Regions from separate parts of the Homo sapiens genome. Here region 2 is linked to region 1. Evidence: promoter capture Hi-C in human tissues and cell types (Jung and others, 2019). All regions are on one chromosome and are shown on one strand. The core of a region is centred on a gene start or on the middle of the fragment in contact, and the rest is flanking DNA. Distances in the headings are between cores, read along the strand shown. Region 1 holds the start of MYOM1 (myomesin 1). Region 2 has its middle 34 kb from the start of LPIN2.

Region 1 (7,137 bases), core at 1,888-4,387:
AAAGGGCTGAGTTGTATCCTCTCAAAATTCCTGTGTTGAAGCCCTAACCTCCAGTACCTCAACATGTGACCATATTTGGAGATAGGGTCCTTAAAGAGGAAGTTGAGTTAAAATTAGGCCATTAGGATGGGCCGTAATTCTATATGATGGTGTCTCTATAGGAAAAGAAAACCAAGATCCAAATATGTATATAACAGAGGGAAGGCCACGTGGAGACACAGGGAGAAGACAGCCATCCATGAGCCGAGAAGAGACCTGAGAAGAAACCACCCAGCTGACACCTTGATCTTGGACTTCCAGCCTCCAGAGTTGTAAGGTAATAAGTTTCTGTTGTTTAAGCCACCCAGTCCATGGCGCTTAGCTATGATAGCCCGGGCAAAAGAATACAAAGTCCACTGCAATGGTCCAGGCTAGAGGTGACAGGGGTAGCAGCGAAAGTGTGAGAGGTGGTCAAGCTCTGCACAGCTTTTGAAGTTAGAACCAATGGCATTTGCTGAAAGTTCTGAATTAGGATGTGAAAGAAAGAGATGACTCCAAGGTTTTTGCCTGAGCAATTGAAAGACAAGTTGCTATTAACTGAGATGGGGAGGAATGTGGGAAAGTATCAGTTTGGGGTGGAAGAACAGGAGATTGGTTTCAATGCTCTACATCTGAGATGCCTGTTAGACCTCCCAGAGGAGACATTTTAAGTGGGAAGCTGGATACATGACTCTGGAGTGCAGGAGAGAGGTCCAGGATGCAGATATACATTTGGGAGTCAACAGCATATAGGTGGTATCGAAAGCCAAGAAAATAGGTGAGAACCATTGTACACGGAAAAGAAAGTCCTAAAAGAAAACAGATGAGGACCATTATACACAGAAAAGGAAATTACAGGCATGGTGGCTCATGCTTGTAATTCCAGCACTTTGAGAGGCCAAGGCAGGAGGATTTCCTGAGCCCAGGAGTTTGAGACCAGCCTGGGCAACGTGGTGAGACCTTGTCTCTATTATAAAAATTTAAGATAAAATAAAATAAGTAAAATAAAGTCCTAGAACTGAACCCTGGAGTATGCTAATCTTATATATAAGCTCTCTCAAATCTCACAAACATTTCAAGCAAAGGTATAGTCTCAAACCAGAAAACAAAACAAAACAAACAAAAAAACCTGTTTGCTCTATAAGGAACATGCAGGCTTCTAGTCTCCCTACTTAAAGAGGTAAGAGAGTCGATTCCCAGGGTGACAGCTGGCATTGTGAACTTGAGCTAGCAGTTCTACTAAAAGTCAAAGGTATGTTTGTTTAGCATAGGGTGGGGAGATGTCACATGGCCTTAGCATTCTTGAATAGTTTATCCACTGAAGCAGGCCTATCAGCCACGTTGACAACCCTGGATGAAGTAATAGTTTTATAAAAGCTCCACCCCCAAGTGTTTTAATGCTGTAGAATTAGTTTTAAAGTGATCTGTTTTCTCCAAATGTCATTTTTAAAAAAATTCAAAATGAAGAATGAATCCTTCTAAACTCAGCATATTCTTTGTCAAGTTTAAAACTACTTTTTATTTAAACTATTTTAAAAGTCAGCATGTATTCCCCAGAGAAGAAAACTGAGCAAACTTCACTCCAGAAATATTTATCTTAGGGTTCATGGAAGATATCAGTCTACAGGGCATTTCCTAAGGGAAAAAAATAGCTACTAGCAAGCAACTTTGCTTCAACCCTTAAATAGATGGCTATTTTCTGTTACAAAATATGGAGGATAATTACCATGTATAATTAATAACTACTAGATGAATTTTGATAAAACAAAGGGGTTAGAAAATGTTAATACAGAATTACGTTAGGCAGTTATAAAGATATTAGAGAAGTTTCTGTTATGATACTACATTGTAACATGGCACATGTTATTTGAATGATTTTTCAAATAAATAATAAAGAAACTTGTTATGTTATAAACTAAATTCATTCCCCAGATGACTTGAAATGCTGTTATTTTCACAAAATAAAATCTTTAAATATCTTGCCCCAATACTATTTTTTACTCTCTTTATTTCTATTTCTCCCAAATACATTTATTTTTAATAATACTTACTATTCCTCTCACATAGATAGTAAGTTACAAGTAAACAGGGTTTGACTTGAAGCCCACATTGCTGATTGTCACAGCCCTGACCTCTGGAACAAAGGTACAACCACCTCCTCTTCATCAAGTAAGCCCTTGAAGTTAACTAAAGCCAGGATTAGCTCCAACACATGACGGCTGGAGTACGTTGGGAGGAAAGATGGTTTTAGTGTCTTTTGTTTCTTTAAGACCTAAATTTTCTTTCTGAAAATAATTTGAGAATTTAGGAAGAAATACAAATTCCATAGCTGTAATTTATGATACTTTTGTGCAGGCATTAGAGGGCAGAAGCTGATGAAAACGATTCCCAGAAAAATCACTATGTGGGGCTCTATGTTGCCTCTGAAATATTACTTAACCATTTGAGGCCATATCATTGTGCGCGCTCACATTTATCCACATTGCATCGTCACAGCAAGATCCCTGAATTATAAACTAGTGACTTCAGAGTTAATTTTCCTTCTTTCGGTCTAATTTGTAACCAGGGAGCATTGTATGGCACATGCAGGATTGAAAATGCAGGGCCTCCTGTCTCTCATCCATTTCAGATTTCAACCAAACCGTACTTGGAAATAGCATTAAACACACGCTTACAGTTCAATCCGAGGCAGATATGACCTCCTTACAGTTCCAGGAACAGCAGCTTAATTTCAGAAGAATACAGTGATGTGAGAGAAGAGCTGTGCCAGCCCGACTGGCACCCGGCTGTTCTGGTTTCCCTCCCTGGAGCTTCACTTTCCTATTTCTCTGTTATTCTGACATCTCTTTGAGAAAACTGCTGAGTTCAGAAGACAGAAAGAAAGCACTTACACTGCACTGCTGCTAAGCTCATAAGCTATCAAGTGCATTCTTCTGCCTCAGTGTCACACTTACCAGTTTCCAAAGGAGTAATGGTGGTGGAAATGTTCCGATGAGGCCGAGGAGCTGGATGAGAGAATGAAGACTCCACCTAGGTTGAATCCAAGACAATGTTAAGAGGCAGGGCTAAAGACAGGACCCTGGGGGCCAGTTCAAAAATAATGCATGTGGTCAGGCAGTCGAATGTCAGGCCACACAACCAGCCTTTTATGGCCAAGAAGGCAGATAAATATAGCAGCAGATGGGGAGGGTAGTTCCAAACCAGGAGGAGGAGAGGGGCATGGGCAGGTAGCAGCCTTAGTAATATAATTGCATAATGCCGGTCAATGGGTCTGGCCCGATTAAACCAAATATAGGGTTTTTATTTGGCAACAAGAGTTATTTTCAATGTCACTTTATCAGTAGATAATTTAAAAGTGTAATGGAAAGAGTGGTTTGTGTTAACAGCTAAAAATAGGTGTAGTAATATGATTCTCAAAATGGACTTCGTGGAATTTTAATGCCAAGATATGATTCTGAGTGTGCTGTTAACAACACACGTACGGTACATTTAAAAGATACAATGTGAAAAAAGAACTTGAAGCTAACTAAAGGCAAAACAAGGAAGAAATGGGTTACACGTGGTGGCGATTTTTGCCTGACATCACGGTCACTATTTCTCTCACTTCAGGAAAATTTACAAGGTTAAGTCTTAGCTTCAAGCCTGAATATGTGATTTCCTGTTCATTAACTAAAGCCTTTTGAGACGCAACTCAGTGTTTTATCTTTCCTAACTCAGAGTAGGGTCAGTCCATCTAATAAGAGATTCTCTTTCTTTGTTCTTTAAATGGTGTGACCAATTAAGAGGAGGTGTAACCCGGTTGTGAGAGCCTGTGTTGTGGATTCAGACCAGATCTAGATCCCACTATATTGATAGCACTTAGTAGCCATGTAATCTCCAGCAATTTATTTCTCCTTCCTAAGCTTCAGGTTTTTTGTCTATAAAATGGGGATAATCATATCCAAATTATAGGATTGCTGTGGTGATTAAATGTGATACTGCAGACAGAGCACTTGACCTAGTGACAGTCACATAATATAGACTCAGTAAATATCAGCTGTTATTACTGATACCAATAATATAAAAGCTCATTGTTAGATTACATGTATGCAGCAGGTTGGTATTTTGATCTACTGGCCTTATGTTCTGACAGTGATATTACATCAACTGAATAAAGGTCACCTGTGTCTATCAAAATTGTTTTTCTTTCTGAGACAGGGTCTCACTCTGTTGCCCAGGCTGGAGTGCAGTGGTGCAGTCTTGGCTCACTGCAACCTCTGCCTCCCAGGCTCAAGCAATCCTCCCACCTCAGCCTCCCGAGTAGCTACAGGCGCATGCCATCACACTCGGCTAATTTTTTTTTTTAACTCTTGGTAGAAATGGAGTTTCACCATGTTGCCCAGGCTGGTCTCAAACTCCTGGACTCGAGTAATCCACCTGCCTCAGTCTCACAAAGTGCTGGAATTACAGGCGTGAGCCACTGCACCCAGTCTCTATCAAGATATTGAACAGACTCAATATTATAGTATACTTCATCATGACTTTCTTGATGATAACTACAGTTAACACTGTTGAGGACCTATCCAGTGCCAGACACTGGGATAGGCAGTTTATATACATGATCCCACTGACTTATCATACCTTGCAAGGTACAGCTTCATTACCCCGTTGAGGAAAGCAAAGCTTCCAGAAGGGAAGGCATTTGCCAAAGATCACACAGCGGGTAGATGACAGAAACGCAACTTCATTCAGAGACATTTGATTCCAAAGCCCGTGTACTTGTAGTCATGTATTGCTGGCTCCTCCAGTGGCACTTTGATAGTAAGAAACTAGACATTTTGAAATGGCAATACGGGTCTTCACTTGTAATAGACGGTTAGCTTCTGAGCTACTCAAAGTATGTAAAAGAATCTGTTCCACCTAGTTCTGATCCAGGTACCTGTGAAATTCAACCTGGAATTTCTTCATATACATACCTCTGCTATTAGTAAGCATGTGGACATTTTAGCTATCTGGAAGCCATAGGCGAGTTTTCCAAGTGTTATGTTCCCCAAGCATCCATTTGTTCTCTAAATATCCAATACAGAATGCAGTGATTCTTCTCAAGTCTTATCCACCAGCCATTAGGATGATTCCTGGTGAGCTGTTTCTCTAGAGAACATTGGTCAATTGCCCCAAATCTTCTCAAAGCAGAAAAGAGGAAAAATAAACTTATATGCTTTTTAAAAAGTGTTTTACATTAGATGATTTTCTGGGAAATTTGAAATTAACAGCTGGCTAACCACTCCATTAAGTTTTCAGGATAATCACATATCTGTAAGGGTATCATGAGTAAGTGTAATTGACCAGAGTCCACATATATAAAGGAATCATAACTAAGTTACAATAATTGATTCATATGAGCCCAAGTTTTTCTTCTTTAGTTTTATTATCCAGTACATCACCATATGTAATTTATTATGTAGCTAGTTGTAATTCAGATAAATTTGCTGTTAGAAAAACCTGAATCTAGATGATGCCACAGCAGAAAGATCACTTAGGAGATTCTGCTGGGTCTAGCTCATGCTTCTTTTGTCTAAACTTACTGTATATTTGTTTGGAATAAACTCTTGCTTTCACAGGGATCTTGAGTATCAATGAATCAATGATAATATTTTAGTTTTTCTATAGTGTGTGTGCACTTCTCTCATTTTTGTATTTTTAACAAGGATGAAAGTTCAGTAAATATTTAAATGTATTGATACTTGTAGCCAGTACATTTTGACCTAATAAATTATTGTCTGTTAATAAGAAACATAAATGAAACTCTTCTTCTGTAACATTTCTTCCTTCTAATGGACAGTATTGGCACATGGTGCTCTCTATCAACATAAATGTGTACGTGTGCACATACACACATACACACACAAACAGGCATACACACACAGTTAAATGGTTGAGAGGCAGCATAGTATCATATATAGGAGGCTATGCTCTGTGTGGAACAGTCCTGGGTTCCATCCTCTGTCACCTTCTGGTTGTGACTTTAAGGATATTAATCTCTCTAAATCTCAATTTTTTTTTTCTTTTTGAGACAGGGTCTCTCGCTCTGTTGCTCAGGCTGGAATGCAGTGGTGCAATCTTGGCTCACTGCAACCTCGACCTCCTCAGCCTCAAGCAATTCTCCCACCTCAGCCTCCCGAGTAGGTGGGACTACAGGCACATGCCACAACACCTGGCTAATGTTTGTACTTTTGTAGAGATGGGGTTTCACCATGTTGCCAGGATGGTCTCGAACTCCTGAGTTCAAGCAATCTGCCTGCCTTGGCCTCCCAAAGTGCTGGGATTACAGGTGTGAGCCACCATGTCTGGCTGTAAATCTCAATTTCTTAATTCATAAAATGTTTTCATGATAATCATGCATAAGATAATCAAATAAGATATTGTAAAACAGTATTACTTCCTGGCATATAGCAAATAGTCATTAAATATTAGCTACCATTATGAGGACTTATATCTCCTATTTTTGTTCATTTTTTCTTCAATGCGGATGTTTTCCACGGAAGGAAAAGCTTAAATAAATTGTTCAGTGAGCTCTTTTGAAAGCCATAAATTTGCTGTATCCTTCCTACTTCAGTGTTGACTAATTTATAGGCAACACTAAAATAAGAAAGGTATCATATTTGGCATCTAGTCCTGTGGTTTACTGAGTAACTTTGAAAAATCATTTCACCTCTCTGAAGCTCCATTTTCTCATCTGTAAACTAAAGGGCTTAGAGCTAGATGATCACTAAGGTGCTTTCCAGCTCTAATAACCTGTGCTATCAATCCACAAAGTAACTATTCTATTCTTGCCTTGCTCATAAGCAGATTAGCAACATTCTGTGTGGAGCAATTTGTGGGAAGAATAAAACAAATCATCCCTGATCCAAAAACTCTGCTTCTACCTGCTGGCTCACATCTGAAATACTCCTCCCTGAGAGTGTCATTTTATGACTTTAATCCCTACTATGCTGAAAATAACCCAGAAAGGTATTTCAATATGTTATTGTTTCTTTTAAGTCTTTGTGTATAATGAGTAGCGGAGAGGGAGGGAAGCAGAGCCAGCGGTGAGGGTGCGAGTGGCTGGAGAGTGGGGCCTAGGACTCTTATCAGAAGCCA
Region 2 (6,492 bases), core at 1,612-4,111, 170 kb before region 1:
TCATTGAAATATTTAACAAAATATAATCTGAGGCTGGGTGCGGTGGCTCATACCTGAAACCCTAGCCCTTTGGGAGGCCAATGTGGGAGGATCACTTGGGCCCAGGAGTTCAAGACCAGCCTGGGCAACATAGTGGGATCCCTGTCTCTATAAAAAAATTTTAAAAATTAGCTGGTGTGGGCCTACATTCCTGTAGTCCCAGCTACTTGGGAGGCTGAGGTGGGAGAATCATTTGAGCCCAGGAGGTCAAGGCTGCAGTGAGCCATGTTTTCTCCATTGCACTTTAGCCTGGGCAACAGAGAAAGACACTGTCTCAGAAAAAATGAAAAGATATAATCTGATGTGAGAAATCCTATAGGTGACCTTCTGTTAACAGTTGGGAGCTGTGGGTTCAGATTTTTGGTCCTGCCTCATGTCTACTCTATACATTATTTTCTATGCTTATTTTCGTCATTGGCAAGAGCTGGCATTCTTAGGAAATAAAAAGAAGTTATGGCACTATTCACCCTTCTTGGAGAGTTTTTAAATACAGTCAACCCTCCATATCTGTGGGTTCCACATCGGAGGATTCAACCAACCTCGGATTGAAAATATGCAGAAAAAAATATGGATAGTTGCATCCGTACCGAAAAGGTACAGGCTTTTTTCTTGTCATTATTCCTTCAACAATATAATATAACAACAATTTACACAGCATTTACATTGCATAAGGAATTATAAGTAATCTAGAGAGGATTTAAAATATACAGAAGCACGGCTCACGCCTGTAATCCCAGCAATTTGGGAGGCCGAGGCAGGTGGATCACCTGAGGTCAGGAGTTTGAGATCAGCTTGGCCAACATGGTGAAACCCCATCTCTACTAAAAATACAAAAATTCGCTGGGTGTGGTGTTGCACACCTGTAATCCCAGCTACTTGGGAGGCTGTGGCAGGAGAGTCACTTGAAACTGGGAGGCGGAGGTTGCAGTGAGCCAAGATCGAGCCACTGCACTCCAGCCTGGACAACAGAGTAAGACTCTGTCTCAAAAATAAATTAATTAAATCAATCAATAAATAATATATACGGAAGGATGTGCATAGGTTATCTGAAAATACTATGCCCTTTTATATAAGGGACTTGACCATCTGTAGATTTTGGTATCTTTGGGGCAGTCTTGGAAACAATTCCCTGTGGATATGGAGGGACGACTGTATATCTATATCGCAGAGGCAATGGCTTCTGTCCTGCCTTCCCTTACACGGCTGCCATAGCTCTAGTAACTTCCCCTAGATTTTCTCATGCCCCCAAACTAGCCTCTTAGAAAGACTTCATTGTGGGAAAATAGTCAGTGAATTCCAGAATTATAGATTTAAATGGTTTGAGGATAAGCAACAAGTCTGGTCTAGTTTCTGCTTGCTGAAAAGGGTAAACTGTGCAGATGGGCCACCCACAGATGGCCCAGATTTGGATTCAGCAGGGAGAAGTATTTACTCAAGATCGTCTGAGCAAGAACTGTATCTGGTGGAATGTAGCCAAGACGTAGGAAAGCTGCACTGAGCACCCTGAGAGGGTGCCCGGAGTAGGCAGGGGATCCATCTGTGAGGACACGGTGGGAAATGCCATGCCAGATTAGGCTGGGCAGCCCCCATGCTGAATACTCTTAGGGGTGCTTATCTCAAGGCCAGCTGAGGGTGGAAGGAATGGAGGCTTGCAGGGGACTGTACTGAGGCTGCGCAGGTAGTTGTAAAATGAACAAGATAGATTGCATAGTGAAATCAAGGGAGGGTGGCAGGAAACAAAAGCAGCAAAAGCAGCAATTCCTATATGCAGCAGGCTTTACGCTCACCATTCATCAACAATCAAGCAAACAAAAACGCCCCCAAATACCAATCACGGCACGGTTTGCATTAAGTTCTGTGAGTGTGCATTGAGTGTTTACCCTGTGCAAGACACTGTGCTAGATGCAAAAACAAGTTTAAAAAATCTAATAAAGTAAGCAAATAAAGGGCAGAAAGGCTAACAGCCCCACTGCGGGCAACAAGCCAAGAGGAAGTTTCTGTGCATAGCATTCCCTCAACTGACCTGACTGCCTGGGCCAGAGATGCCCTGTCTTTGTCCTGCGTCTGTCTGGGTTACTCAGTAGGCACTTTCTTCGTGTTTTGCATCTTATACTCAGCTCATTAGTGTATAATAAAATACTTACCGAGAAGCTCCTATGTGACAGGGAGTTGGAAGATATAATGAGGTAAGTGTGTATTGAAACATATCTAGGCATAGAAAAAGTACAGTAAGTCTGGGCATGGTGGCTCATGCTTGTAATCCCAGCACTTTGTAAAGCCTAGGCGGACGGATCTTTTGAGGTCAGGAGCTCAAGACCAGCGTGGCCAACATGGTGAAACCCTGTCTCTACTAAAAACACAAAAATTAGCCGGGCGTGGTGGTGCGTGCCTGTAATCCCAGCTACTCGGGAGGCTGAGGCAGGAGAATTGCTTGAACCCAGGAGGCAGAGGGTGCAGTGAGCCAAGATTGCACCACTAAACTCCAGCCTGGGTGACAGAGTGAGACTCAGTCTCAATTAACAACAACAACAACAAAAAGATACAGTAAAAAATACGCTATTATAATTTTACGGGACTGCTGTCATATATGTGGTCCATTGTTGACCAAAAGGTCATTATGCAGCACACGACTGTATTTTGTTGTGGATCTGCATCAGTACAGGATGTTTCAGGTCCTGGGCCCTCCCTTTCTACCTTGATCACAGACTACAGGGATGGTCTCAAGATTAGCAGGAGGAAGGTTTGTTTGTCTCATAGACTGTCCAGTCTGAAGAATGTGTGAGGCCTAGGCCCACCAGGGGCCCACAGCTGCTCTGGTGCAGGAGGGCCCGGGACAATGCCTGGTGTCTGCAGGAGGAGGGCAGAGGGGCAGAAAAGGCCCCTGGAAACATAAAGGAAGAAAAGTGGGAGGGAGACCAGAAGTCGATGGAACTTATAGTAAGCATCTGAATGGAAAGAGTTCTGTGTGATCTGTGTGAGTGGCAGGGGGGTTGGATGTGAAAATTAAGACTCATTTCTGTCCTCTCTAGACATAGGGTGTGTTTAAGCTGGGTTACCACTAAGACTGTGTGTTCTCTCAGGTGATTAAGTGATACCCACACAGCCTCCAGATACTGCCAAGCAAAACGTATGGGTAACATGCTTATTTTGCTCCATTGAGACAATTGAGCTTCTCATGTGTGGGGTCCATGTTTCATTCATGATTTCACCCTATACATGTTACCTAGTTTATAGTTCATAGAGATGCTAAATAGATGTTTGTTATTCTTGTTGTATTAGTGTGAGGAACCCACAAGACCTACCTTACAAACTGAATAGAAAATGCCCACAAATAAAGAATAATGTTATTCTAACATGTAAGTCTAGTGCTCATTATTAATGAAATTGGAGTTCAATGAAATACCCACATGGCTTAGAAGAAATAGTTAAAGATGACTCTGTGGAACAGATAAGCAGCAGAGAATAATCAGAATTTGGCTAGGCAACATGGAGGAAAAAGTGATTCCAGGGGCTGGAAAATCATGAGCCAAGTTTATTAAGCATGTTCGTGAGCCAAGGTCACAAAGTTTTGTGTAGAGGAATAACAAAAAATATATTCTACTCACGTCTGCAATCCCAGCACTTTGGGAGGTTGAGATGGGAAGCTCGCTTGAACCCAGAAGTTCAAGATCCACCCTGGCAACATGGAAAGACCCCATCTCTACAAAAAAATTATTTTAATTAATTAATTTATTTATTTTTAGTATTTATTTATTTATTTTGAGACGAAGTTTTGCTCTTGTTGCCCAGGCTGGAGTGCAATGGCGCAATCTCAGCTCACCGCAACCTTCGCCTCCCTGGTTCAAGCGATTCTCCTGCCTCAGCCTCCTGAGTAGCTGGGATTACAGGCATGCGCCACCACACCCAGATAATTTTGTATTTTTAGTAGAGACGGGGTTTCTCCATGTTGATCAGGCTGGTCTTGAACTCCCGACCTGAGGTGATCCGCCCATCTCGGCCTCCCAAAGTGCTGAGATTATAGGCATGAGCCACCGCGCTCAGCCCAATTAATTTATTTTTATATAGACGGGGTCTTGCTTTGTTGCCCAGGCTGGTCTCAAACTCCTGTCTTCCAGTGATCCTCCTGCCTTGGCCTCCCAAAGTGTTGAGATTACAGGCATGAGCCACCGTGCTCAACCCAAAACATTTAAACAGTAGGCAGCTGGGTGATGCTTACCTGTAGTCCCAGCTATTCGGAGGCTGAGGTAGGAGCATTGCTTGAGTTCCGGAGTTGAAGGCTACAATGAGCCATCGTGGTGCCACTGCACTGCAGCCTGGGCAACAAACTGAGTCTCTGTCTTTAAAAAAAGTACATCTAGAAGACTGGTCTATTGTGTTCACCTGGATGGAAAGATGGTTTTCTTTCCTGTCATAACCTAGGGTCTGGGCTATTGTGGGAGCCTGGTTTGTGTTTGTTGAGAGAATGAATGAATATATGATTGTCTTATTGAATAATAAATGTATCACCCGTCCTCTTTCATTCCAAAGAACAAGTGACATGGGTCTCTCTCTTCTGCCCCTCTGTCTTTCCTTTTTAAATCTTCTCTGCTTTTCCATCTTTGGATTCATTGCCCTCCGTCCTCTCCCTCCCGTCCCTCTTGCTCTGTTTGGAGTCTAAAGTAGAAGCATAGGAAGTGGGCTAGAAGGCAGCACATCCCAGGGCCGTCTGCGACTTCTCTGCATGCAGAGACAGATGGCAGTCTCTGCAATTACTCCCCATCATTTCCTCCAGCGATGCTCCCAGTCAGACTCCAGGAAGATGCCAGAACTGTTTTTGCCTTACAATACTGCCGGTCTCCAGGCTCAAGCTACTGCACTAACTACATTTTCCAAAGTAGGATAATTTTGTTATCAGAAAAAAATATATATTAGAAAAAGAATGCTGTACCTTCTTGTCTGTTCATGGGCATCATTATTTTCTGGCAAGAATTTCTTTTATATTTTCAAGTAATTTAGTTTGAATCAACTGTTTTTTTTTGTGATGGATGCTATTAGAATAAGTATTGCCCATGAAAAGCTTTATTTGTTAGAGTTAATTAAGTCTTATGGCAGAATTTTGAGGCTGGTTGATGAATACATTTTGTACAGCTAGAGAATAAAATCAAATTGGATGTTTTTCTTCATGATTAAATACACTTACATTTAGTTGGCTTTTCCACAAAAACAGTAAAGCACAAAAAAATCCCAAAATAAACTAAAAATCCCACATAATCTCACCCTACAGCCATAACAATTTGATTTATGCCCCTTTCATCTTTCTTCCTCCACATTTATTTATGTGTTTTGTTTTTTTTTTTTAATGTTTTGAGACAGAGTCTTGCTCTATTGCCCAGGCTGGAGTGCAGTGATGCAATCTCTGCTCACCACAACCTCTACCTCCTAGGTTCAAGTGATTCTCCTTCCTTAGCCTCCCGAGTAGCCGAGATTACAGGTGTGCAACACCATGCCTGGCTAATTTTTTGTATTTTTAGTAGAGACAGGGTTTTGCTATATTGGCCAGGCTGGTCTCAAATTCTCGGCCTCAGTGATCCTCCCTCTCTGGCCTCCCAAAGTTCTGGGATTGCAGGCATGAGCCACTGTGCCTGGCCCATTTGTGTGATTTTAAGTTGAAGAAAAGAAAATAAACTTTCTTTACCAGTTAAGCAATATATCAATTAACATTTTGTCAGCTACATAGCATTTCCTCTGTGGATTACCACAGGTTTTTTGTTTTTTTTTAAATCTCCTATTTTTTAGGATTAACTTTTTAAAAAATAGAGATGAGGTCTCATTCTTTAGCGTTGAAATGCTTTGAGTGTGATTTGATGTGTAAATAATATTGTGGTGAACATTCTTATTCAAACATCTTAGTCCATTATCTATTTTCTTATGGTAAAATTATTTAATGCAGAATTTCTGTGTCTAAGGATATATAATTTTAAGATTTTTGTTACATATTTCTGCTTTTTAGTCCCTTTTATAAAACTTGCAGTTTTGCTCTACCTTTAGAAAAACAATGCCAGCACAAAGCAAATTGTGAAGGCCCAAACCTTCTCTGCTCTTTATTTTGTATTATTTACTTATTTTTAACAGACAGGATTTAGCTCTGTTGCCCAGGATGGAGTGCAGTGATGCGATCATAGCTCACTATAACCTCAAAATCCGGGGCTCTCCTGGAGGTGGGGGGCATCCCCTGCCCGGCCAGCCACCCTGTCCGGGAGGTGGGGGGCGCCTCTGCCTGGCCACCCCGTCTGGGAAGTGAGGAGCCCCTCTGCCCGGCCACCACCCCGTCTGGGAGGTGTACCCAACAGCTCATTGAGAACGGGCCATGATGACGATGGTGGTTTTGTCGAATAGAAAAGGGGGAAATGTGGGGAAAAGAAAGAGAGATCAGATTGTTACTGTGTCTGTGTAGAAAGAAGTAGACATAGGAGA

The links. Contacts are between HindIII fragments. The study calls those that stand out against the background at their distance.
Region 2: a contact is called between a fragment that was not itself captured here and the fragment with the promoter of MYOM1 in region 1, in 2 of the 25 tissues and cell types used here (dorsolateral prefrontal cortex and mesendoderm cells).

The regions. Positions count from the first base shown.
Region 1 is chr18:3,216,831-3,223,967 of GRCh38, forward strand. MYOM1 (myomesin 1) reads right to left here and starts at 3,138. Exons shown (of 38, transcript NM_003803.4): 1 at 2,973-3,138. RefSeq lists a silencer at 1,141-1,435. The HindIII fragment of the contact is 14,410 bases long and covers 1-4,300 here.
Region 2 is chr18:3,043,558-3,050,049 of GRCh38, forward strand. No RefSeq gene overlaps it. Among named protein-coding and RNA genes, the nearest start is that of LPIN2, 34 kb to the left of the region's middle. The HindIII fragment of the contact is 7,534 bases long and covers 1-6,492 here.